Regions from separate parts of the Homo sapiens genome. Here all the other regions are linked to region 6. The links are contacts of gene promoters, found by promoter capture Hi-C in blood cells and fetal thymus (Javierre and others, 2016). All regions are on one chromosome and are shown on one strand. The core of a region is centred on a gene start or on the middle of the fragment in contact, and the rest is flanking DNA. Distances in the headings are between cores, read along the strand shown. Region 1 has its middle 170 kb from the start of MIR3977. Region 2 has its middle 47 kb from the start of MIR3977. Region 3 overlaps LOC105379050 (a long non-coding RNA gene). Region 4 has its middle 190 kb from the start of MIR3977. Region 5 has its middle 240 kb from the start of MIR3977. Region 6 holds the start of VCAN (versican).

Region 1 (4,192 bases), core at 1,359-3,858, 800 kb before region 6:
TTGGAGATTCACCTGTTGATTTTGATTAGGGTCTCTCTCCCCGTCTCAGCTTATAAAAGCTTCACATTTTAAAGAATGCTCTAACAGGTGGGTTCACATTCTCACAGATTTCTCCATTACTGACAAAACAGGTCAAATTTCAAGTTTCTAGCCAGAGGAAGCAATCGTTACTTCCATTACTATGGGAGATGTGGGAAAGGGAAGTGAGAAGCAAATTAGAGTAGGTGGGCTTTCAGGTTCCTTCTAGTCCTGCTAGAATTCGCTTGATGTTTGTCCATTCGGAAGGCTCATAGATGCATTTTGTCACAATGGAGACATTTTTCTCTTTCATATTATGTGGAACATTAAAAAAAATAATAGTCTGGCAATGCTTTGGGGAGTTACGCTTTTCCTAGTGTGTGGTTCTTGGCTGAAGGTATATGATGGTTGGGAAAAAATCAACAAAGGACTGCTCTGTATAATATTATGTCTCTGGTAGAAAGTGGTTTGGAGGGTTTTATGAAGCAAAGATTCTAAAGGTAAAATCTTTAACAAGTCACAACTCTGAAAGGCTGATCAAACCTTACATAAATAAACTAAAAATCTCCAAAAGAAGCAAGTCACCAAGTGTTCACATTTGATTTGAATATTTCATTTAAATATTTTCCAAGTTTGATACTTCTACCCTTTCTTTTATAAGGAATCAAATAAACAAATATGTTGGAAATGCATGCATCTTATTTATGTGATAGCTTCATGTTTGTTAGAATTTTATTATTCCCCTTCTAAAATTATTTGTTGCTCTTTAGTTTTCCCAAGGAGACTTAAGGCTAGACTCTGAAGCAGAGTTTGCTGAACAACACTTCCTCTACACTAAACTTCTATGATTTTTATATTTAATGGTCTTCATTTCACCTATATCTTGGGTTTCTTTCCTCTTACACTATATCAGAAATGTTCAGGGTAGTCCATAAAGCCCATTACTAGTCTGTGACACAAAATGATTATCAGGCACATATGGTTTTACATAACCCTGATGGTTTAAAGAAGGACTGAGGAAGAAATAACAGATTCAAGGGGTGTAGCATGACCTTAGCCTAAGGTGGCGGATGTGGTAAGGAGGGTATAACACTTGATTCTGAGGCTAAATTGGTAAAGTGCAAGACAAATTTGGCTTCCTGAAGTGTTATCTCCGCAAAGAAAGGGGTTTATTGGGAAAAATTTGGGAGTCATCCTTGACTCCTTCCACTTGCTGTTATCCCCCAATATCCAATTATCTCCAAATTCTTTTGTTTCATCTAAAATATCTCTTGAGCCCATCCTGCTCAATCCACCTGTGTAGCCACTGATCTAGCTCAGGTTGTCATTCAAAGCTGCATTGCTTCTAAGCTCACTTGGCTGCCTTGGTTTCTCTCCCTTTCTACCTTCTCCTGTCACAATGAAATCTCAGTTTTATCAGGTACAGGTAACATCCCTGATGAGATATGTCACTTTCCTCCCAGTGCCTACTGACTAAAGGTAAAAAAATCTTTATATGTCCCACTAGGTCCTATGCGATGTGCTCCTCGCCAACCTACAGCTTCATCCCTCATTATCCTCCCCTCTTACATCCATTTCCAGCCCTATCTCTCAATTCACATTTCAAGTCACAGCAACACAAAACTGGCTGTGGTTTCTGCCCAGTAATCAGGCCACTTCCATCTCTGGGTGTCTGCTAATGCTGGGATTTCTGTTTTCTTGCCCTTTTCTGTAAGTTTCTAGGCTCACTTCTTCCCCCTTTGCCTCCCTAACTCATTTCTCATTACTGGACGCTCCACCATGGGGGCTGCTTCACTAGGAAGGCTTCTGTAAGCTCCTCCCTGCCCATTGTCCCAGGCCAGACCAAACACCTGTGCCTTATGCCCCCAGTGCTGTCTGTGAATCTCTCACCAACATGTTCTCCTTCTTTATATCCCTAGTACTGTACCTGGCACAGAGTAGGTATTTAAAATGATTTGTGGGTGGGCGCAGTGGCTCATGCTTGTAATCCCAGCACTTTGGGAGGCCGAGGCAGGCAGATCACTTGAGGTAAAGAGGTCGAGGCCAGCCTGGCCAACATGGTGAAACCCCGTCTCTACTAAATATCCAAAAATTAGCCAGGCATGGTGGTGCAAACCTATAATCCCAGGTACTTAGGAAGCTAAGGCAGGAGAATTGCTTGAACCTGGGAAGTGGAGGTTGCAGTGAGCTGAGATTGCGCCATTGCACTCCAGCCTGGGCCACAAGAACAAAACTCTGTCAAAAAAAAAAAAAAAAAAAAAAAGATTTGTTTGTTACATAAGTGGAAGAAAGTATACATAATGAGAAATTGGTGAATACTTTTGATGCTGCCAAACAGTGGTTTAGGCAGGGTTTGTCTCCATTTAGCCCATTTTGACCCTGCCCCTTTTTTAAAGGAAATAAAATGTTATTTGAAGGTCTGGGTACCCTTCCCTGATCCCTCTCTTTCCAAAGGTAAGAGATATTCTAAATTTTGTTTATCACGTATATAAGAGATAGCTGTAAATAATGTATTTTCTTGCATATCTTCAGACTTCACATAAATGGTATCACACTTAAATGCCATTCTCTGTTCTCTTCAATCAGTATTATGTTGTGAAGATTTTTAAATATTAATACATAAGACTCCAGTTCATTCATTTTAATGCTATGTCATATTGCATTGTATAATATACCACATTCTTATATTGATTAGAGTATTGCAAACACTGCTGCTATGAACATTCTTCTCCATGTGTCTAGGGTAAATATTCAGAGGAAGAATTGCTAGGTTGAAACGTATAGTATCAACTATACTAGATATTGTTAAATTTCCTTCTCAGTTGTGCCAATGTATGCTTCCACCAGCAGCTTATGAGAATATCTACGGCTCCAAATTCTTTAAAATAATTTTAATAAAATAATTTACACTTGAAATAATTTAAAATAATTTTAATTTGATGAATTTGAAATGCGTTTCATTTTCTTTGGTTTAATTTAAATAACCCTGACTACTGATATTAAGCATCTTATGTTTATTGGTCATTCAGATTTTGTTTTCTATGAATAGATTTATATAATAAATAATAAAAAGTAAAAAATCCAATAGGTTGAATACTTGGTCAAAACTGGGGTATTGTTGAAAGGGAGAAAGGATAGAAAGTGTTTAGTAACCCACAAAGTCTGCTACCGCCATTAGAGCATATCAATTACCAAAGACCTCTTGTGGTGGTGGCCCCTGTGAATCTCTCATGTTTTCCTGGTTTCCCTGCTTTAGAAATAAGGAGGAAGAAGAGCTGAAGATACATTCATATTTCATATTTCTATGAATCAAAGTGTCTCTAGTTAGAAAATAACTAAGCCTAATAAGGGAGAGAAGATACTTGGATAACAAAACCAAAAAATAACAAGACTGATATTTCCTTCATGTACAATGCAATCAAAGAAACAAATAGATGCAAATACAAGTACATATTTTGGCATGAACCCATATAGCTCCAGGCACAGCGATTAGTTTTTTTCCCTTCCAATCTGCTTCTATCTTCCCTCTACTTCCAGCCCTACCCTTCAATCTCAGTCTTGTTTCTTGGCTATGCAATAGGGAACAGAAATCCTTCAGGGTCCATGTAAGGTCAGCAAATGTCTAAATCAACACCACCTGGTAAAAATGCAGGGTGAGCCACAGAAGTGATCTTAAATTTTTGAAAAGGCACATTTTTAAAAAGTAAAAAGAAAACAGTAAAATTAATGTTAGTAATATATTTTATCCAAAATATAATCATTTCAACATGTAATTAATATTGTTATTGAAATATTTTCCATAGTTTTTTTATACAAAGTCTTCAAAATCAATGTGTATTTTGCACTTATGGTTCATCTCAACTCATACTAGCCAAGTGCTTAATACCCAAGTGACAACTACCCGCCTTATTGGACAGCTTGGGACTAAATAATTTGTAGCTCATTGCGAAGTAATCCAACATAATTATCCATTCTTTACTTCTATTGTCTCACTTTCTCATAATCTACTGAAATTCTGTGTTCTGCATTCTGAGTACCTTTTCAAATCAAGACAAGGGCCCAGGGTTATCCCCCAAGAAAACTGTGGAACAGTATTTCTTCTCTTCAACAAAATGACCCCTATATTCATTGCCCATCAGTCATTAATTTAGCAGTTCAAAGACTCCTAAAACAG
Region 2 (4,156 bases), core at 1,070-3,569, 680 kb before region 6:
TCCCCAATCGATGAAGAATTACCTCCTCCTTTTTGTCCCCAGTGTGTCTTAATCACTATGCTCAAATAAAATCCAATATTGCATTTCTTTATACGTGTTAGGCCATAAAAGAGGGTTGCAAATCAAATGCCTTCATGACCGAGAGAGGCATAAGTGAGTGAAGCAGCTAGAATTAATATAATATGGAATGGTGAGAGTGTAGCAAAGTAGAAAGTGCATACCACTACCTATAGCATGCAAATAAATTTATTTTAGAACAAACAAAAACTGAAAAGTCTGGGAGCGAAAAACTTATGACACTATCTTTTTTAAATGTAAGCCACTAAAGTTGGTGTATACTCTTCAAGATGGAAGGGGACAAATACTAGCGACCAGCCAAGGTTTAAAGAAGTCTGTATGTTGAAGAGTTTCCCAGCTCAATCCCAGTCTAGCCCACTCTATTGCTTGTGAGAGTAAACCACAACTAATTGCCTTTACTTAAAGTTCTAAGTATTATCCGAGAAAACAGGAAACAATTTTCATCCCAATACCTAATTATGCACAGATTAATTTTACTTTCATAGAGAAAGTCAAAGATATGATTTCTCAAAAATGCAATATTACTCTGTTTGACATCATACAACAGCTTTTTCTCATTAAGCATTAAACTTGGGATTTTAAAGTATCTACAACATGTTCACATTTTATAGGCAACTATTGTATATCCTGTGTTTAATTGGGATCTAAATTTATGACATATTGTCAGATAATTTCCTCACTAGTGCCCACAAATAGTCTCTTACAATGTTTATTCGTTTTGACAGCATTGCTTTCTTGGATCTTTTCACTTTCTTTGTAAGGGGTCTTGCTTCAAACTACATTTTATGAAGTATGTGCTAAGAAAGAAACACAAGCCAAAAGTTTGAGCAATGCCACTAGTTAGATGTTGCATTGAGGAAATCAAGTCTCAGAACTTCCAAGGGAAATGTGGAATGAAGAACAAACTGTTTTGGTAAACTCTCTTTAATCCTCTAAAAGACTATAATGAGTGATTTTTGTTAGAATTTTAGATGATGCTGATGTCATCTGAAACATCTACTTAGGTAGGCAACACAGTGCAGATATTAATGTAACAGACTCTGAAGTCAGAGGCCTCAGGTCAAATCCAAGGTCACTTAATCACTTGATTCTCAGTTCCTCATCTATAAATTTGAATTTATCACCAAAACTATGATAGGAATACTAGCTACCTGTTAGGCATGTTAAAAAGTGCAAGTAACATAATTTGCAAAGTGCTTAGCATCACTTGACACATGGTAGGTGATATGGTTAGGCTTTGTGTCCCCACCCAAATCTCATCTTGAATTGTAATCCCCATAATCCACATATGTCAAGGGACAGACCAGGTGGAGATAATTGAATCGTGAGGGCAGTTTCCCCCATGCTGTCCTCATGATAGTGAGTGAGTTCTCACAAGATCTGATGGTTTTATAAGGGGCTCTTCCCCCTTTGCTCAGCACTTCTCCTTCCTGCTGCCTTGTGAAGAAGGTGCCTTGCTTCCTCTTTGCGTTCTGCCATGATTGTAAGTTTCCTAAGATATCCCCAGTCTTGCTGAACTGTGTGTCAAACCTCTTTTCTTTATAAATTACCCAGTCTCAGGCTGTTCTTTATAGCAGTATGAAAATGGAGTAATATAGTAGGACCCAAGAAATTATAACATGTACTATTGCTATTTACCTGGAATTATCAATAAGTTAGATGACATTTAATTATTTTTGGTAATAAAGAAGTTTGCGTACTATTGTTTTTCATACTGATTGTTTAAAAGCTTCAACATCTGTTTTGTACACATACACAACCAGATATTTGTAAACAATTTTTATAATAAGCCTATAGTATAAAAAAGGATAATTCTACCTAGAGTTATCATGAGGAGGGAATGATCTTTTATGCAAACCTCCATCAGTAGTGTCGGAAACTAGCAGGAAACTACAGTGTAATTACTACACATACAAGGCTCTGCATTCTTATTCAATTACTGCCTTCGCAGGCCTTTTATATTTTTACTCAAGCATAGTAAAGACAATATGGCATATTCAATCTCTACTTGGATAATTATAAATAATTAAATTTAATTAAGCCCTAATTATGCATAATGAAAAAAAAACTAGCATTTCCCTGGGATGTTCATGCAATCCCATGACTAGCTTGGCTAACTGTACACTGCAGCACAAAACTTGAAAATTATTAAGAAACCTAAAAAGCAGCAGATACCGCTAATTTAAGATGTGTCCTGGAACAAGCCGCTCAATTTCTGTGGGACTTAGCTTCCTCACCTACATAGCCCTGGGTGGAATTAATTCTTTCCAAGACGTCTTCCAGACTTCAGAGTCTGTGTTTATATGATTATCTAGTCTACCTTTTTCTTATCTCAACACAACTTAAGGAAAGCAGCACAATCCCATCTTTAGTGGTGGCAGAGATCCTCAAATGACGTGATAGGTGCCCCCTACTGGAGTGTCTCAGAATTGCTAGTGTGGTGGGAAGGAGGAATTTGTAGATTGAAAAACAAATAAACAAACAAAAAAAACCCGCCAAAGGAAAGTAAAGTGGGGTTTTACTTCTGTTGTCCCTATTGACTAAAGTATTCCAACCATCCAAATACTAAATTTTAAAAATTATTATATTTAGAAAGCCTTGTGGGGGCCAAGAGAGACTTCCCCTTTGCCCTCTGGGGAGTTGCTGAAAAATCAACTCACAAAAGGCAGATTAACTGGAGAAAAGGCACACATATTTATTTAATGTGCACATAGGGAGAATCACTGAGGGATGCCCACCATCCCAAATGGTTCAGAAGCTTAGATACTGCCTTGGCAGAACAGGTTACCCGAGAGGGGCAAAGAGAAATTCTGTTGAGGGGATTACTAGGGAGAATGAATGTCTCAGGGAACAGAAATTAGCTTGTCCATTATCTTGTGAAAGGGTCTGTTCAGGCATCATTGCATTCTTGGTTTTACAGGGAGAAGAAAAAACAATTGTTCCTTTTGGTGGGCCTGGATCTTAGGCAGATAAAGGTTTTGGGAGAGACGGTGGGTGGAGGAGGGCACTTACATGAGGTTTCTGCAGTTCAGCATGTCAAAACACATTTGGAGTTACTGATTTCTGAGCCCTAACAATCTCTAATCCAGGGATCATAGAAAAGCGGCCCTCAAACCATAAACAGTCTATATATGTGTTTTATACGGTCAATGTTCTTAAAATATTGGAATTTGTCACCAAAACTTACAACCCAAGAGAATTCACAAAATCCGAATTTCTGGTTTGCTTTGAAAATTCAGAGGACCAGGCTACAGTAGGCTCACCTTCTTGCAGCATGATAATGGTTGTAGCTGAGTAGCATTTGACTCCCTGACTACCATTCTCAATGGCCTCTTTAGCATTTGTCACTATGTGTTTCTCTCTTTTTCTTCTAGTAGAGAAACATTTTTCTGTATCTCAGCTCTATCAAAGGTAGGGAATCTAAAGACAAACCATGTTTCTTATGCCATCCGATTTCATTCATTCATCATCAGTGTCTCATATTTGACTCACCACTACTGTTTCCCACAAATTGGCCAGTCAAATAACAGGGAACTTATTTTCTGCTTTGTCACTTTGAGAAATATCGATTTGACCAGTTTTTACTCTTACTCTTTTTATTCATTTACTCTCAGGATGATTGCCAGATTTTCCCTTTCTCTGAAGCTCATTTATTTTAATAAAGTATAATATACTTTATTACTAATTTACATTCCCAGAAAATATATGTACTATATAATATAATATATAAATATACATTAAATATACAATGTAGGTATATATTACATTTATATATTATAATACATAGTATATATAATACTTATAATATATAACATTATATTTTCTATAATATATACATAATATATGTATAAAATAGAAAAAAAGATCCACAACAGACACAAATACTGTCAGTCACACATAAAAAAATGAGCAAAACTTCCTATCAATTATAAAATGTTTCTGAAAAATATAAAAAGTATCTAAGTATAAGGAACAATATGCCATATTCATTAATAGGAAGATGCAATAATACAAAGATATCATTATCCTAGCATTCATTTATAACATCAGTAAAATGCTTAAAAATTTTTGAATTTTT
Region 3 (4,257 bases), core at 1,725-4,224, 740 kb before region 6:
AAAAATGCCTCAGAGTTTACTTTATCATAAGTGCACTAGGAATTGGCCACATGGTTTGGCTATTTAAAAATCTAACATAATTTTGGACTATATTAATAAAATGTAATTTGTATATTTAATCATTTTGTATTTACCCTAGTTGGACCATATCTGCAGTATTACAGTAAACTCTGTACCTTGCATTTTAAGAGTGACTGGGCTTGTCCAGATGGTTCAAATATCAAGGAATTTTAAAATTCCGTCAGAGAGTGTTAAACAAACTGAATACATTTCTTCTAATACTGCCTCCCAACCAGCATGGAAAAATACTGTTCAGCATCTATGCCTGATGGTCACTTATCTTGTTTAGAATATGTTTAGTTATACAGAGATCATTACTCTGCATTGTCAGGCAGGTCTCACTTTAAACTCCTTTCGAACTCTTCCTCGTGTTATTGCCACTCTTTAATTCTAGATTATTAGTAACCTATTTTTCCTTGCACTTTCTCTTGACAAACCATTATAAACTTGAAAGCCTACTATGGCTTCTTCAGAGGATGTAAAGAGATTCTTTCTTTCTTTCAGAAAAATCAACTTGCAAAAAAAAAGAAATGTATTAGTCCATTCTCATGCTACTGACAAAGACATGCCTGAGACTGGGTAATTTCTAAAGCAAAGAGGTTTAATTGACTCACAGTTCCACATGGCTGGGGAAGCTTCACAATCATGGCAGAAGATGAAGGAAGAGCAAAGGGACGTCTTACGTGGTGGCCAGAAAAGAGAGAATGAGAACCAAGTGAAAGGGGTTTCCCCTTATAAAAACATCAACTCTCGTGAGACTTACTCACTACTATAAGAACAATATGGGGGAAACCACTCCCATGACTCAATGATCTCCCACCGTGTTCCTCCCACAACACATGGGAATTATGGGAGCTACATTTAAAGATGAGATTTGGGTGGGGACACAGCCATACCATACAAAGAAAAGCTTATATTGATAAGCAAAGCTTATCAATACAATAATAAATATAGATGTCCATAAAGTATTTAAGACCCCATGGTAAATACAGATTATAATTTCAGAAGGCTATTATTTAATTACTGATAAATAATCAAATTTTTAAATTTGATCAATTTTAAAATTCTTCACCAATTTTTATGTTTTGTCATTTGAGAGCCTTGGCTGATCTTTAAACATGCTTAGTAAATTTACCTGAAAGACCCACTTCGAATTGGTACAGGATACTCCTCAGCATTCATTTCCTATCTATTCAATTTCATGACTAAAGCAAGCTGTAGCTGGTGGCTTGAGAATTAGTTTATTTTTGCCTTTAGGGAAATTTAACAAATAAGTAATGTTCTGACTGGTGAAAGTAATAATTTACTATTTAAATTAAATTATTTAATTAAATAATTAAAGGTCCTAATTACTATTTACTTCACTGAAGACTTACCACACACAGGTAAAGAGAAACCATCCCATGGAAGTTCAAGCTTCCCCTCTAAAGTGTAAGTCTGCTGAAATGAATTGACAATACACATTAACAGAAGAAAAGCCATAACAAAGTTATTCGATCATAGTTTTATATGACATGAGAGTTTTCACATTGATGACCCAAAGGCTCAGGGTGAACTATCCATTTTTACGCTTAGGTTCTATTAATCATGGACAGCCATGTAGGCATATGATTAGGCAAAAGGCTATGATCTAATAGTAATAGACCACGGGGGAAACGCAGCAAGGCAGGTTAGAGCAATATTTTTAGAGTCACAGTTTTAGGTCTTATGGCTGGCTTTGGGGAAAAGGGATCCTGGTTTCTATGACCGCCTTAAGGAAGAGAGATTCTAGTTTCTATGGTGTGCCTCAGGGGGAAATGAAGGATGAGAGACAGGAGGGAAGGAGAAGGCCAGAGAAAAATTTTGTTACTTCTGAAGTGTTCGCTTTGGGGTATCATTGTCTGAGCCCAACACTATCAAAGATCATGGGTTTTCATGTCATGTCATGTTTGTAATTAATGATTTAAGGCCTATTGAGAGAAAGAGGAGGAAGGAACATGCAAGAAGTGGGAGCTAAATAATTCCAAATTAGAGCCAGCTCACTAATACCCCTAAGTATCAATATACCAAGCATGTTGAGAGAATCTCACACCTCAGCCCTCATGTGTTAAATGCTCCACCTGCCTCTGACACAGGCGATGATCTCAGAGGCAGTCCCATGTCCTTAGACTTACCTCCCAAAAGGAAATTTGTTATCCATCACTCCCCTACATTCTTCAGACAGCTCTGGTTTTTCCAAGTAGAACTTTCTTCAGTCTATCTGTAGCAATAGCAGAAAATATTTCCTTGGCTTCCAAATTCAAGGAGACTTGTGCATAGAAATTCTATTTTTTTTTTTTTTCATTTTTGGTAAGTTTTAGTGTCAGGGGCAAATGTCAGGTTTCCCTGAGGTCATTTGGGAATTGAGGATGTCCCCATGTGAGATATTGCCGTACATGAAAAGGGCTCTGGGTGATAGAGAGACAAGAGAGGAAAAGAGAAAAGGAGCCATGTGGAGACTGGAGGTCTTGGGTGGGAGTGCTGACAGGCACTGGGTGGGGAGGCCGAGTTTATTACTCTGTTAACAGGTTCCTTTGTAAATTCATCATTTGAGGGGAGTCCTGACGCAAGGAGTGGGAACTGAGAAAAGAGAAAACAGGAAATACACGCCAACAATAAAAAGCAGGCTTTCAAATGAAGAACAGAACATCCAAAATTTCAGCAATGAGAGATGTAAAATTCATGGAAACACTGACTCACGAGGTCAGTTAGCCATAGTTTAATGTCTTTAGTTCACTCTTTCTTTCCCTTCCTCAAAAGGAAGAATAAGGAGAAAATAAAAACTTTTATCCATAGTATATAATATCAAATGAAGTATATTTCAAAGCATTGCACAGAATTAACATCCTTGCTACTTTAATGCTGTAGTTAATTGTCTGGCCTATATGAAAAACTGAAAAATGAGAGAACAGTGAAATGAAGCAGATGCCAAAGGATTCTGGAATGAGAACAAAACACATCAATAATCCATGGGCAGATTTTCAGAAGTTTACAGATGATAATCCTGAAATATTGATTCAGCATTTGTTTTGTTTAGGACAGTCTTAAGTACTTAGAAAAAAAAATCTTAAAATATATATGCCTAGTCAAAGATTCAAAGAGCAAAATGAAGCTATTTATCTCCAATCAATGTATAAGCATGTAAATTTTTTTTGTAGGTGACTAGATAAAGACAGAGAAATCTAGAAATGCCACAACCTTTTAAGGTTTTGAATTGCATTTCAGAGAGTCTGATAGTACACAATATTCAGAAATTAAAGAGACGGTTCCCTTCTACTTTCTTTTCAATCGCTGCCTCAAGAACAGGGGACCTTTGTTACACTCCATGGTATACTGAGCATATGTATGGGAAATATCCTGTGTGGCTTAGGATGAAATAAATAACCTCCTGTGGTCACAAGCCACTCTGCAAAATGGCACTAAGAAGACTGAGTTTAAAGGCAGAGGCCTTTAAGCATGGCCTTTGGAATCAATTGGTTATTAACATTGTTATAACACAGTTTAATTTTTATATGAACATTAAATAACACTTATTGAACAAGCTCAATTTCAGGACTTTTCTCCCCATTTATCTCACAAGTTTTTTTTTTTTTTTAAAGGCAACAGAAAAGGTCTCCCTATATTAGAAGTCCTAGAGTGACAGAGGAAATGAGTCATCAAGATAATTTATGAACTTTCCCATAGCTTGCAATGCACGAGCATAATAATCCTTTGTTATTTAGCCTACTCAGAGACCAAACTCCAAGACCTTGATGGAACACAATTAAAACAGGATTTCTGTAGACTCAAGTCTCTGCTTCACATCCAAAAATGGTTTTACCTTATTGCAATATACTCAATTAATTTTTTTTTTTTTTTGAGACAAAGTCTCGCTCTGTCACCCAGGCTGGAGTGCAGTGGCGCGATCTCGACTCGCTGCAACCTTCACCTCCGAGGTTCAAGAGATTCTTGTGCCTCAGCTTCCTGAGTAGCTGGAATTCCAGATGTGCACCATCACGCCTGGCTAATTTTTGTATTTTTAGTAGAGACGGGGTTTTGACACGTTAGCCAGGCTGGTCTCGAACTCCTGGCCTCAAGTGATCCACCTGCCTCGGCCTCCCAAAGTGCTGGGATTATAGGTGTGAGCCACGGTGCCAAGCCTCAATTAATATTATTTACTATTTTTCACTTTTCTACTGT
Region 4 (4,297 bases), core at 274-2,773, 830 kb before region 6:
CATGCATTTCAAAACATAACTCACTGCATCTTAATGTATGTTAGCCAGTGGGGCTGGTTAGTAAGTTACTACCTGATGGAGAATTTGACTATGTTTGTGTCCTTGTACAGGCTTAGCATGTAAATTACACTTTCTTAAACAATTCGTTTCAGATTATAGAAAATGCTAAAACACTTCTGATAGCATAGTAAGAAATATCCAAAAGAAAAGGGAACCCCAGTGAATGAAACAAGTCAATTGAAATCTACTGCATCTCTAGAAATAATAGTTTGCCAGCTGGTTGCCTTATGGTTTTAATGATATTCTCACAGTATAGTTCCCAAATCTGAGTACTTATCAATAATCTCCAGGACTTCCTTTGTTTGTAGAACATATCATTTTATTTCAGTTAGCATGTCTCACCCTTATCCCCCTCAAAAATTAAAAAAAAAGTCATTGGTTGTTCCGTAGCTTACAGAGAAAGTAGCTTTTCAAATGAATGTCTAGGGAATGTTGAGGAACACCAGCTTCTTGCTCTTCTCTATTACATAACAACGCCTTTGGGCATATAAGTAGTGGAACTGCAATAAATGTTATGAACAGAAGAAAATGCCTATTGTGATTATTGCGCAGCACTGGCATATTGTGGAAGAGACTTGTGGCAAGCTAAAAACATAGAAGCAGAGGACATAGGTCTTGGCACTGGATCTACCATTTGTTAGCAGCATAACCTTTAGAAAATCCCCCAAGAGAAAGCGGGAGAGAAATAAACATCTTTTATGGAGTATTTACTGGGGCAAGAATTTAGTAAAAGTCATGCCATTTAATCCACATAATAGTTGCAGAGATAGATGTTGTTAGCTGCATGTTATCCATGCGGAAACTGAAACTCAAGGAGGTTAAGTCACCTGCCAAAATTCATAGAGCAGAGTATATGGTGGAGGGTGGGCTACTGTAATGGTTAAGATCATGGTCTCTGAGTCAGACAGAAAGAGGGTCAAATTCTGCATCCGGGTGCCATCACTTATGGGCTGGGTGTCCTGAAGCAAGTTATTGATAAGCTTTATTTTTCTTATTTCTAAAATGGGAATATATTTGTATTTCTATCTCATAAGGTTGTTTTAAGCTGTAACTAAGATATTGTACGTAACTGCTTACCTCAGCACCTGATTTTATTGTTTAATCCTTTAGTTATATTATTTTACAGAATAACTGAAGGTTTTCAAGCCCAAAAGCCTGCATTGTCTCAGTTTTGCCAACTAAAAAAGGAAGATAAAAATAATGGCTCTCCTCTCCTTCCATATTATACGAGAATTACAGGACTAGTGAAATAATGAGAGGAAAGTATCTTGCAAGTGGATGTGTGTGCACGTCTTTACAATTGCTCTGAACTTGTTTCTTGTAGGTCTTGAGTCTCCAGATACAATGTAAGCTACTGGAAAACAGAGGTCATATTTTCACTTCTGCTGAATGCTACATTTCTAATTCAGATTTCTGAAACATGAAGTGCCCAATAAACCCTAATACAGTAACTCTTACAATCATTTATTAGCAGCACTTTCACTCAAATTAGAAACTGTTTTTGTGTTTATTATTTTTTTATGGAAAGCCATATAATCCATTTTGTCTTATATAGAATGAGGGTATTATTGAGACCCACGAATGCTACTAGAGTCCAGCAATCACATTTTTATGATATTATAAATCTCCCTCTTCCATGTGTCGTGAATATTGTTCCTAGCAACAGAAATAATTTTAAAGGGGCATGTTACCATTTTTAATACCCACAGGTGTTTCATTCTTAAACCCCTTTCTTGCCCACATTAATTGCTACCCTTATCCAGTACTGAAATAAATGCATATTAATTTTTAGTGTTGTTTATTTTATTTCTGCAGGTGTGTATTAATTTCAGAGTTCAGCTAAGCCTGTCTAGACCTTAAATGCCACCAGATCTCTTAAGCACACATTTATTTTTTATTGTTTTTGTTACATTCTTTATTATCAGAATTCATGAGTGTAGTTTTTATAAAGCTTGTTACTTACCCTGAAGACTGGATTTGAACGTGCCGTTCTGGTTGGCTGAGTAAATGGAGATTTAATTACAGATATTTAATTGCTTATTATGAACTTGATGGACTGGAACTGAATGAGCCCTTCTTCCCCATTTTCTGCCTTCAACTCCACTACACGAACTCATCGTGGGCTGGCTGCTATTCTGTACAACTTTCATTACCAACTTATGGATCGTCACTCCTTCGAGTTCAGTGTAAAAATTTATGTATGTCTGACAATAACAGGGGGTAGTCTCTAGCTTTCTTAAAATAAATGAAGGAGGAATATTTTATTTGAAAATAGAAAATGAGGTTAAGCTTAGGAGAAATAAATTCATGAACTAGCATGAGAGATAATCTTCAATTTGAAGAAAGCCTGATTGGAGTTTAGAAAACAGAAAGTGTATTCCCGGATTCAAGTAAAATGTAGAAGAAAATGCAATTCTAATATGTAGCTATATTTATTCTCTTAAAAGTCAAATACAAAATGGGGTATAATGGAATAGAGGAAGTTTAGTCGTACTAGGACATACGAGAACATGTAAAAAACTAACAGTGATTGATTAAAGTTTGGTTACAGTTCCCTTTCACATTATTTTTTGATGCAATGTTTTGAAGAAAACTATAATACAGACTTACCAAACTTAATTTTAGTCAAAAACTTTTTTTTTTTGCGCTAGACATATGTTTATCCTGCTGTATAAATAAACTTAAAATGCTTATGTGATCTTGCTGGTGGATCAGCATTTTAATCTGAAGGATTTTGTTATTAAGTTTTCACTTCAAATGAGAGCAGGTATTCGTATTTGTACTTAGAATTTGGGTATTGTTTATGTTGGTATGAGAGTAGGGAGTTTAAAAAAGCTGGTTCCAGCAAAATTGTCTTAATCAATATGACTCCTAATGTAGTGCCAAAAATATTGTAAATTTACAAATAGTTTTTTACTTTAGGTGTTCCTTGAGTATTATGTAATGTTGTTGTTCCTTTTCGCGGTCAGGGATAATAGGCTGTGTGGAGGTTTCCTTTATGAGAAAATTTGTCTCCTCCCCTTGCCCCTCGCCCTGGTATGTCCAAGAATCCTTCAGGATGCTAACTCATGTTTTCTAAAGGGTAACCTCTGGAGCTGGATCCAACCTCAGCTAGGTCCGTGCACCCATGAGGCTGGAGAACTCCACAATCATCTTTAAAGTAGTTGTTTCAGATGGAGCTACTAAAGTAGACCTCAGCTCAAATCCAGATGGTCAGGGAATTGTCCTGCTTTCACCACTGTGGCCACTTCTAATATTGAAGAGCATCGCTGCTTCCTGTTACACCCAAAGTGCTGATGCTGGGGCTGAGTTTTCTGTTCCAGTGGTTGTCACTGAGGCTAGTGCAAATTCCTCTCTTGGCTGCAGTAGTTCAAGGAGATGATACTGGCCTAGGGCAGCAGTGTAACTCTTTGATTTCATTACACAACCACATTCTCAGCATACAAGCTGGCTCCCTCTTGGCTGCTGAAATATGTTCTGGGGTTCAGTAGTTCAGAAATGTGGAACTTCCATCCCACCTTGACCTCCCTACTGATACATGGTTAGATGTTATCCCCTCTCTTGGTGATTTTATTTCAGGACTTTCATTGCCCTTCTTTGCCACTTGTCCTTTGTCAGGAGTATCCCATTTCACTCTGTTAAATTTCAATAAGATGAATCTTTTGAAACTTTATGAAGATTTACCAACTTCTGTCCACTTACCAACTGGAAGAAGGACAGAAGATTTACCAACCTCTGCCCTTCAAGATCTCTATCCAGCACCTACAAAATATCAGTTCTGCCTCCCTGGATTTTCCTCTGTAAATGTTTTCATTGAAGCAACTGTTTTCATAAAATATATTCTATTTCATGAGCATTTGAATTTATGAAATTATAGTATTTTTGGTTTTCAGATCATGGACAAGATTCGAGTTAAAGTTACCTGAAAGTGTAGTAACTTAGTATAAATGATTTTCATTTTAAAAACCTAGTACAGTTTTAAAAAAACTTAATTTGTCTCATTGAACAAATTTTGTAATTTTTCCACAAAAAGAAGAAACATTCATAAAAATATGTTGATTTATATTTGAGGTAACATCTTTAGTTATTACTACACATTTTCTTTCTCACTTCCTATGAGGGTAACAAAAAGAATTTAAACAGTACTCACAATATTTAACACTGCTTTTAACCTTTGAAAATTCAGATATACACAATAAACTTTAAAAAATAGCTCTGCATTACTCATGGTCTACTG
Region 5 (4,597 bases), core at 894-3,393, 870 kb before region 6:
AATTATTTATAACCACAGTCTACCCTCTTCTTACTTCTTAATTTCTCAATTAATAAGACAAAAAAAGCAAAATCCTATCCTCGTTGCAGCAACTGTTTTTCATTACAGATATAGTATCTTGCTAATAGAATTAATTGCTAAGGATTTAACCTAAATTTTCTAGTTCTATACAAGTAATAATAGTAATTAAAGGGAGAGTTCCATGTTTAGATTTAACTTTTTTTATTGTACCAAAAAAATGAGTCAATTGAAAATATTATCCAGGAGAAAATTATCTTTGCCTCTTGTGTGGCTATGGAAGTTAGTATTTTTTTTTTTTACTTGAAACGAATTCTACAGTTTAACTGGTTTTCATCTTGTGGTGAAAGTTTCCAAAGGCCATCAGGAAAATTGTCTAATAAGTAAAATATTTGCCTAGAAAATTGAAACATGTGTCTGCATAATTCAGACCTATATTCTTTCTCTCTTCCCACTATGTCCAGATAATTGAATAAAAGTTTTGACATAACTTTTTTGTGGTCATTTGCCAACAGAATTATTTAGTTCTTGCTCATCAAATACACTAGATAAAAAACAATGGAAGACATCTTAATATAAGATGCAAAGATCTTGAACATTTCAAAGATAATTTCCCAATAGTTACTAGTTACCATGGAAGTTTAACAAATCATCTTTGAGGTGTCCCTTTTAAAAATATAAATAATACCCTCATTTGTAAGTCATAAAGATCAATGAAGACTATTTCATAAACATTATGAATAACCTAACATTCTAATTTCATTTTGGTTTATGTTGCTCACACCATGAACAATTTTAGTTCGACTCCTGGAATAGAAGTTACACATGCAACCTATGACCAGGTTAGTCTGTTCCAGTTAGTAAAATCACCAAATCAGCCCATCATTCGAAGCCCTTTCATGATTCTCCCACTATGTATGTTTCAATCCTAACTTTATCCTTATTCCTATTTCTAAATTTGTACATGTCATCATATAGCAAAGGTATGACCTCCATTATACCTTTAATATATTAGCCAGAAATACTCTTCTGCATTGAAGCTAAGCATTGGTTGGTGGTTGCGTTGAAGCATTATTGGTGGTTGCATTTATGTAAGAGCTCAACTTTTACTTCAAGCTTAGCCTATGGGATTTGTTATCTTTCAGAATCCATTCCATTATCAACAGCGTCAGCTGGGATTAGGTTCAGCTGGCAATAACAGAATATTCAAACATGAATGGCTTTATCACAAAAAAGTGTATTTTTCTCAAGTTATAAGATGTTCAGGTAGGAATTTGCTGGCTGTTTCAGCACCTCTAAGATGTCTTGGCCAAGATCTCTAAGATTCTCTTTGCTTTTTCCTCATGAATTCAAGATGGCTACTGGAGATCCTGCAATAATTTTCACTTCCCAGGCAGCAGGATGGAAAACTAATAAGGCGGCAAAAATGGTTGGAATATTTCATTTTCCAGCTTTATCTGCAAGGAAGGCAGTAAAATAAACTATGTGTAAGAGAAAAGAAGAGTAGGCAAGAATAGATATTAAGGTAGCAACGAGCATTTTGCCACTCCAATCAGTCTTAGTTGATGTTAATTCTTCTACCCACACCTTCCTAGAATATTAGAATTCTGCAAGTTTTCTTACTTAAAAGCAAGGCCTAAGCCTGTCATAAACAGTCCTTAAAGAGACTGGCCATAAACAGGATTTCTGCAGCAATGTGACATGCTCGTGATGGCTATCATGCACACTGCTAAAAGTTGTTGGTTTACTGGAGCAGGGCAAGGAACACCTGGCCCGACCTGGAGCGGAAAACTGCTCTAACCACAAATTATAGCAGGAGTGGCCTGTGCCTTAGCAATATGCTTTTGCTGCAAATAATCAGCCAGAGTCTGTTTCTCTGCTCCTCACTAGGAATGCTTTTAGTTAATCTATAATCTATAAGAACTATGCTTATCACTGGCTTTCTGTCAATAAATGTGTGGGTCAAACTCTGTTCATGGCTTTCAGCTCTGAAGTCTGTCAGCCCCCTGATTTCCACTTTATACTCTATTCCTGTGTCTTTGTCTTTAATTCCTCTGGTGCCACTGGGTTAGGGTCTCCACGACCGAGCTGGCCTTGGCAATTGCCATATTTTACATTATTCTTACATATTTGTTTTCTTCCTAAAATCTGCTGTCCATGTTTATAAACTTGTGTTAGCTTCAAAATCCTCCAAAACAAAACAAAAATAGAACTGACGTGGAAATGAGGACCAAACATGTTACTTAGTCACAAATGAACAATAAACTGGCAGGGTGACCAAATGAATCCAATATATTATCTAATATGTGTGTGAGAGGAAATGAATGACTATTATAGACACAAAACGAGTTGCCCTACTAGAGCCCCAAAACATGTATTAGGGTAATGGCAATTCCTTGCACCTCTCGTCACACCTGCTTCTCATTTGACCCTGCATTACATGTGTGTCTCAATCCATTTGTGCTGCTATAGCATAATATCCAAGACTGGGTAATTTCTAGACAACAGAATTTATTTGTCACAGTTCTGGAGGCTGAAAAGTTCAAGATCAAGGAGCTAGAAGGCTGGGGGTGAGAGCTGCTCTTGCCTTGATGTGGCATCTTGTTGCTGCATCCTTTGCAGGGGATGAATGCTGTGTCCTCAAATGGCAGAAGGGATGGAAAGGTAAAAATGGTCTTAAGCTAGTTCCCTCTAGTCCTTTTATAAGGCATTAATTCATTCATGAAGGAGGATTTAATCACTTTCCAAAAGTCCTTACCTCTTAATACCACCACAATGGGGATAAGTTTCAACATAAATTTTGGAGGGGCCAAATTCAAACCATAGCAATATGTTTGGAGTTAGCTTGGCTTTAGTATGTAAATCTGCCTGCAATTCCTGAGCTCTATAGAATGATTGAATCTCTCTAGGGTTGTTAAAGTTCAAGCCAGTGAGTATTCATCCATGAAAAAGCCAAAATGAATTCCATGTTGTTTATAAAACAACAAAAATACTTAAATCACTTCTAAGAATCAGAGAACAACATCACATACGTGAAAATTCACTAACATATGATTTACCTGGGAAATACAGGTAAAATGGACAATAGGTCGGTAGAATCAGGAACATTTAACTACTGAGATATTATATTTAACTAAGCTTGAAGTAAAAGTTTAGCCCTTACATAAATGCAACCAACAATTAGAAGTGACATTTGCCATACTGGCTTTATGTACAATGAAAGCCATGTGTAATGCTGAAGTTATGATAGAACAAACATTTATTTCCCTTATATACTAATTTTTAGATTTTAAAATCTGTAGCAGTTAGAGTTTTTGTTTTGCTTACAATGTACCGATACATGTAACAATAAGCTATAGCATTATGGGGGTCACAAGTCTATGCTTTATAGGATATTTTAGAGATTTAAAATTATGCTCCCATAGCTTCCCTCATGTTGGTCTACCTTTTGATGTCTCTATTACTTCTATGAAATAAGAAAGTGAAGTTTCACCTTCTTGGAGTTCTATTATTAAGCTCAAAGATACATATTCAACAGATTAATTTACTTCAATAAACATCCTTGTGCTTGGTGGAGAAGATAACGATTCCTACCCTCCGGAAACTCTCCATAACAAAGTAAATGGCATTGGTCATTTTTCCAGCAGACACATGACTGTATTTCCGAGCAGCCTAGTTTCTTTGGGTGAAAGATTTTGGAGAATGCAGTTATTTTTTAGCTAGAGATGTTAGCTATCACTAAAAATTAATGTGGCTTAAACAGTCTTTAGCATATAAAAAGATGTTCAACTTACTACCCTTTAGGGAAATGCAAATGAAAATCACAGTGAAAAACTTCTGGTTTCTGGTCTGACACGTATAAGGAACTTATAAGTCTTAATACCATCCTAATAAGTAGAACAACTTGTTAAAGTTGAACAACCCGAAAAGTTAAGAAGGCCTCTTGGATCTGTCAGTGAATTGAGGTCACAGGGCAAACCACTACCCCATAACTGGAGAGACACATAGGCAGATACAGAGAACGACAACTTACTAGAGCAGAAACCCTTGAGTAGAAACCTCTGCAGAAACCAGTGTCAGAATAGGAAAACCTGAACTGACAAGTTGCTGGAGGCTCAGTGTGGACAAGTCTGAGAGTTAAAAACTCCAGGGGGGATCAGTCAGAGAGGGTGGCTTCCACACTTTTGTGAGTTTTACCTCCAGAAGCTCTATTCAGTTCTCACGGTGAATATTGAGGAAAAAATTGCCTCATGCTTCTGGCAGGGGGAGGGGAAAAGGAACCATTTAAAAATATGCCAAATCATTCTGTTCTTTTCAACAAAGTTTGCCCACAGAAGAAACTTCAACCAGAGCTTAACCTGTTAGAACTTTATCAGAGACTAATCTACTTGGGGGAAGAAAAATAGCCAACTCTAGCCCCTCTAGACATCTTGTTAGAGAAACTAAGAAGAAACTAAGTTTTTCTTGTAAGAGAAAAACTAAGAAGCACTGGCGAGGTGCACAGGCTAGGGGCACAGGCTCACCGAAAGACTGAGACTTAATATTAGGACGATAGAATACTTCCCCCCAGCACCTTACC
Region 6 (4,099 bases), core at 1,318-3,817:
GGGAAAGTCTGCCCTAGAGATAGAAAGAAGATATCCATGGGGTATAATTTCATTTTAGTTATCTGATAGCCTGAAGAAGTATTTAATTTTCTGAATAATAATGTTACAAGTCAAAGAAGAGAAAAGACAGGCAGTTTAAAGCTTTTCAACATTGTGCATATTCTAATTCCTTAAGTCAGCCCTGAGAAAGTGCCTTTGTCCTGTAGAAGTATTTGGTCAAGTGTTGTGAAGTCTATTGGCATTAAAAGAAACTAAAAATTTTGGAGGATTAGAGAATCAAATTTGGCAACATAAATGAAAACATCTCAGAATGTAAAAAGTATCTAACCCATCACTTTCAATCATGTTCCATTATATACAGATGGCATTATTTATAGTGAATGTTAACTATTAACATTTCCCTAAAAATGGGCATTAATCTGCTATTAGTTGCTTGTTTCTGATCTAGTTCTCCTTTGTTGAAAGGTTTTACTTAACTGTATCATAAAGGGACAAAAGGGTAAAAGATAATAAGCTTTTCAGACTGGCAGATCTGTCACTTACAAAATGGCCTTGGGCAGGTTACTTGAACTCTTTGAAACTCAACTAGATTTACTCAAATTTAAGAATGAGAATACAAATCCACATCTTGAAGTGTTTCACAGAAAGGTCTATCTTAATGTCTGGAGTATATATTTCAATGAACATTCATTTTATTTTATTTCTCTCCATTCCTGAATCAAGCAATCTTGAATCTAAAGTTGCTATGATTAGCACTGAAAAGACCACTGGACTATTAATTGTGTGACTTTGGGACAGTAACTTTCTGCACCTTAGTTTGTTTACATGTTATACATGAAGGTTGAAGTCTGATTCTGCTCTGTGACTATCATTCTAAACATCTGATGAAATCAAATTTCAGTGTTTGGAATGGTAGTACAATAAATTTACTAAGAATAAATAATTCACTGCAAAAACACATTGATTTCCAAATGATGTAACTGACAGTTATATTACTGCAGAGGGCTGATAAATAACAAAAGAAATGAAAGATGCACATGGTGAGAACTGAAATTATCCTGACAAGTCTTCTACCTGTTTATCACTTAAAATCAATGACCATGCTGAATGCCTACAAATTACAAAATATAAAAGAAATCTTATAAATGCGCATGTACAGGAGTCTAAGTTACTAAAAGTTTTAAAGCATAAGTTTAAACCAAACTAATCAAAGAAGTTGAGAGGAAAAATTGGCTTTCATCTTTAATCACTACTGTTTTGAGGTCCTATGTTTAATATAATTTTCTAAGTAGAGGCTTCAGAGAGAAGAGTTGTGAGGATACTTTCATATTTGTGTAGAAGGAAAAGTTTGCCATCCATTCTAGTATCCCTAGTGTTATACTGATGTGCACCTTGGATTTATTTTGTTCCTATTGTATAAACTCATACTTGACTTCAAAGAAAAGGAAAATCCAAAGTCCCTCTTTTCTAAGGGGACAGAAATCCTTTGTGTCAACTGTTTGACCCTTTTCTCTGTAAGGTCCTATTGGAAATCTTTTGTAACACAATGCAGGGGACTCTTCCATGTGTTGATGCTGTTTACACAGTGGGGTGGGCCTGACTGAAGAAAAAAAATCGCATATACGCATGAAAGATTATGGTCTTATTTCCGGAAAGCATGAAAGGTGATTGATACTTCCAAGAAGTCCCTGTTACTCAGGAAAATTATCAAATATTCTACTCAGAGATACTTGGAAAGACTGAAGGAAAGGAAGAACGAAGAAAGCAGAATCTAGACTTATGTGGGGAGAGATTTGTGGCAGAGGAAAAGTATTCTCTTTGAATCCGACAAGGGATTTGCCTGGGGGAATTTCCTGTCCAGCCTTTTATTACCAGGGTCTTTTGAAGCCGGGCTCCCCATTGGGCAGTTCCCTGGGAGTGCAGTGGGGAATTCTTACACTTTCCCTCTAGGTCCCCGAAGGATCTCGTTTTCTCAGTGTCTCTTTCAGGTTGGCAGGAGCCTTGAGCCTGACACTTCCCTTTGATGGGACAGGCAAGCTCTGTGGGCGCGTAAACACGCTGTAACCAAGTTCTTTGCTGATTTTACAGTTTTGTGTGCTCCCGAGAAGAAGTGATCGTACTCAATTGTCTATTGCTGGCCTGCCCCCTAAGAGCCTGGGGGCTCCTTTCCCCTAACCCAGAACTAGCTGCACGGGGGGCGGGGAAATGGGGGTGGGGAAGGAGTGGGAGGGCAGTGGTTTCCGCGAGCAGAGCGATGTTACTGAGTGAGTCCCTGAATGGGGAGCGCTGCTGTCCCCAAGCCGATTGGTACTTCTTGTCAGGAAGAAACGCCAAGAGGTGGGAGTGCCTGGGGAGGGAGGCAGGCGGTCCCTACCGCAGGCGCGGGGAGCTGCCTTTCCGCCCCTCCGCCTGCTTTCCAAGCCTGGACTCTTAGGAGTGGCTGAAGCTGCGGAGCGCTTTTGGAGCCTGTGAATGAACCCTCCTCCTCTCCCTCCTCCTTCTTCTCGCTGAGTCTCCTCCTCGGCTCTGACGGTACAGTGATATAATGATGATGGGTGTCACAACCCGCATTTGAACTTGCAGGCGAGCTGCCCCGAGCCTTTCTGGGGAAGAACTCCAGGCGTGCGGACGCAACAGCCGAGAACATTAGGTGTTGTGGACAGGAGCTGGGACCAAGATCTTCGGCCAGCCCCGCATCCTCCCGCATCTTCCAGCACCGTCCCGCACCCTCCGCATCCTTCCCCGGGCCACCACGCTTCCTATGTGACCCGCCTGGGCAACGCCGAACCCAGTCGCGCAGCGCTGCAGTGAATTTTCCCCCCAAACTGCAATAAGCCGCCTTCCAAGGTAATCACGTTTCTTTTGTTCCCCCCTTAAAAAACAAAAACAAAAAACTTATAGAAAAAAACCCGCGAGCTTAGAAAAAAGAAGCAATTGGTAGAAGGCTTTAATTAAGGCAAAGAGCTGTAAGGCGAAGTTAAGAAAATGTAGGCACTTAAAAAATGCAGGTAACTTTCATAAGGGCTTTTGGGGAGAGGCATACAGAGGGACCTTGGTGTTGAAAAAGATTCAGACAAAAGAAACCCAGGGTGGGGTGGGGGGTAAAATGACTAACGGAATTGGGGGAAGGGAGGGAATAAATTGTAAAGAAATCATAGAAAAGTGGTGGGTTCTTGAGCTGGAGAGAAGAGAGGGACCTTTGGCACTTTGATTTTTTTGTTGTTGTTGTTCTTAACACGCTCGAGGCAAAAGTTTGAATGGGGACTACCAAGACTTGCCACAGACAAGTCCCCGAAGCCGCCTTGGTGCAGGCCACCTGGTTTCCCAGCCCCTGGTGTGTGGTCAGTGCCTGGTGTTCCTGGAAAGCCACTCCCGGGCAGCTCCTGACAGTGCGACCCGGCGCCCAAGCAGCCTGGGACCTTGCGCGGACCTGACCCCTTCAGACCGCAGGCAGTCTGGGAGGAGGTCCGGCCGGGGGAGGTGCAGGATCCCCGCCGTGTCTCTTTGACGACTTGGGGACTGTCACGGTTCTCTCCCGGCGCCCCTGGGTTCTTTTGTCCTGCACGCGGTGCGAAGGGGCCAGCAGGGAAGGAGCAGAGGATGGGGGGTGGGGTTGTTGGAGCCCCGCGGAGGTCTGGGAGGCCCCTGGGCGGGAAAAGCCTGTTCTGAATCGGCAGGGATGTGCAACAATTTTTCTCACCCTGAAGAGTGAAATAGGGTCTGTCGCTCCCATCTCAACAAGCAAACCGGCACCCAGAGCGCACTGCAGACAAAGGTGGCTCGGGGACCCGAATCAGGGGCCTCTGGGTCAGTCCTCTCGCCCAGACTACAGGAGTCCTCCGTTTCCTTACATATTCCCCACCCTCTCCTAGTTCTCCGCTCTAGTTGAGCAACTTTACTGGCAGGTCTAGCGGCAGCGGCGCGCGCGTGTGCCGGGAGCCCCGGGGGACGTCCTCGGCTGGAGCGCCCCACCGTCCTGCAGAGGCGTGGGCGCTGTAGGGCGACATCCCTGGTGCGTGCAGACCTAGGGCATCCGGGTTGTTCTGGCCCGCGGTCTGTGTCACTGGGCGTGGAGCGGTCTGGGTGTTAGGCAGAGGAG

What was found. Contacts are between HindIII fragments. The CHiCAGO score rates a contact against its expected background, and 5 or more counts as called.
Region 1: a fragment that was not itself captured here is called in contact with the fragment with the promoter of VCAN in region 6 in 2 of 17 cell types (monocytes and M2 macrophages); the score reaches 6.9 in monocytes.
Region 2: a fragment that was not itself captured here is called in contact with the fragment with the promoter of VCAN in region 6 in 1 of 17 cell types (endothelial precursors); the score reaches 5.9 in endothelial precursors.
Region 3: a contact is called between a fragment that was not itself captured here and the fragment with the promoter of VCAN in region 6, in 1 of 17 cell types (endothelial precursors). The highest score is 5.2, in endothelial precursors.
Region 4: a fragment that was not itself captured here is called in contact with the fragment with the promoter of VCAN in region 6 in 8 of 17 cell types (M2 macrophages, M0 macrophages, erythroblasts and 5 more); the score reaches 13.7 in M2 macrophages.
Region 5: a contact is called between a fragment that was not itself captured here and the fragment with the promoter of VCAN in region 6, in 1 of 17 cell types (fetal thymus). The highest score is 6.8, in fetal thymus.

The regions. Positions count from the first base shown.
Region 1 is chr5:82,665,436-82,669,627 of GRCh38, forward strand. No RefSeq gene overlaps it. Among named protein-coding and RNA genes, the nearest start is that of MIR3977, 170 kb to the right of the region's middle. The HindIII fragment of the contact is 5,103 bases long and covers 58-4,192 here.
Region 2 is chr5:82,791,524-82,795,679 of GRCh38, forward strand. No RefSeq gene overlaps it. Among named protein-coding and RNA genes, the nearest start is that of MIR3977, 47 kb to the right of the region's middle. The HindIII fragment of the contact is 1,029 bases long and covers 1,806-2,834 here.
Region 3 is chr5:82,731,883-82,736,139 of GRCh38, forward strand. It overlaps LOC105379050 (a long non-coding RNA gene), which reads left to right. Exons shown (of 4, transcript XR_948504.3): 3 at 565-639; 4 at 2,607-4,257. Among named protein-coding and RNA genes, the nearest start is that of MIR3977, 110 kb to the right of the region's middle. The HindIII fragment of the contact is 3,000 bases long and covers 1,475-4,257 here.
Region 4 is chr5:82,645,120-82,649,416 of GRCh38, forward strand. No RefSeq gene overlaps it. Among named protein-coding and RNA genes, the nearest start is that of MIR3977, 190 kb to the right of the region's middle. The HindIII fragment of the contact is 971 bases long and covers 1,039-2,009 here.
Region 5 is chr5:82,599,464-82,604,060 of GRCh38, forward strand. No RefSeq gene overlaps it. Among named protein-coding and RNA genes, the nearest start is that of MIR3977, 240 kb to the right of the region's middle. The HindIII fragment of the contact is 2,022 bases long and covers 1,133-3,154 here.
Region 6 is chr5:83,469,177-83,473,275 of GRCh38, forward strand. VCAN (versican) reads left to right here and starts at 2,568. Exons shown (of 15, transcript NM_004385.5): 1 at 2,568-2,847. RefSeq lists an enhancer at 2,997-3,869. The HindIII fragment of the contact is 5,577 bases long and covers 513-4,099 here.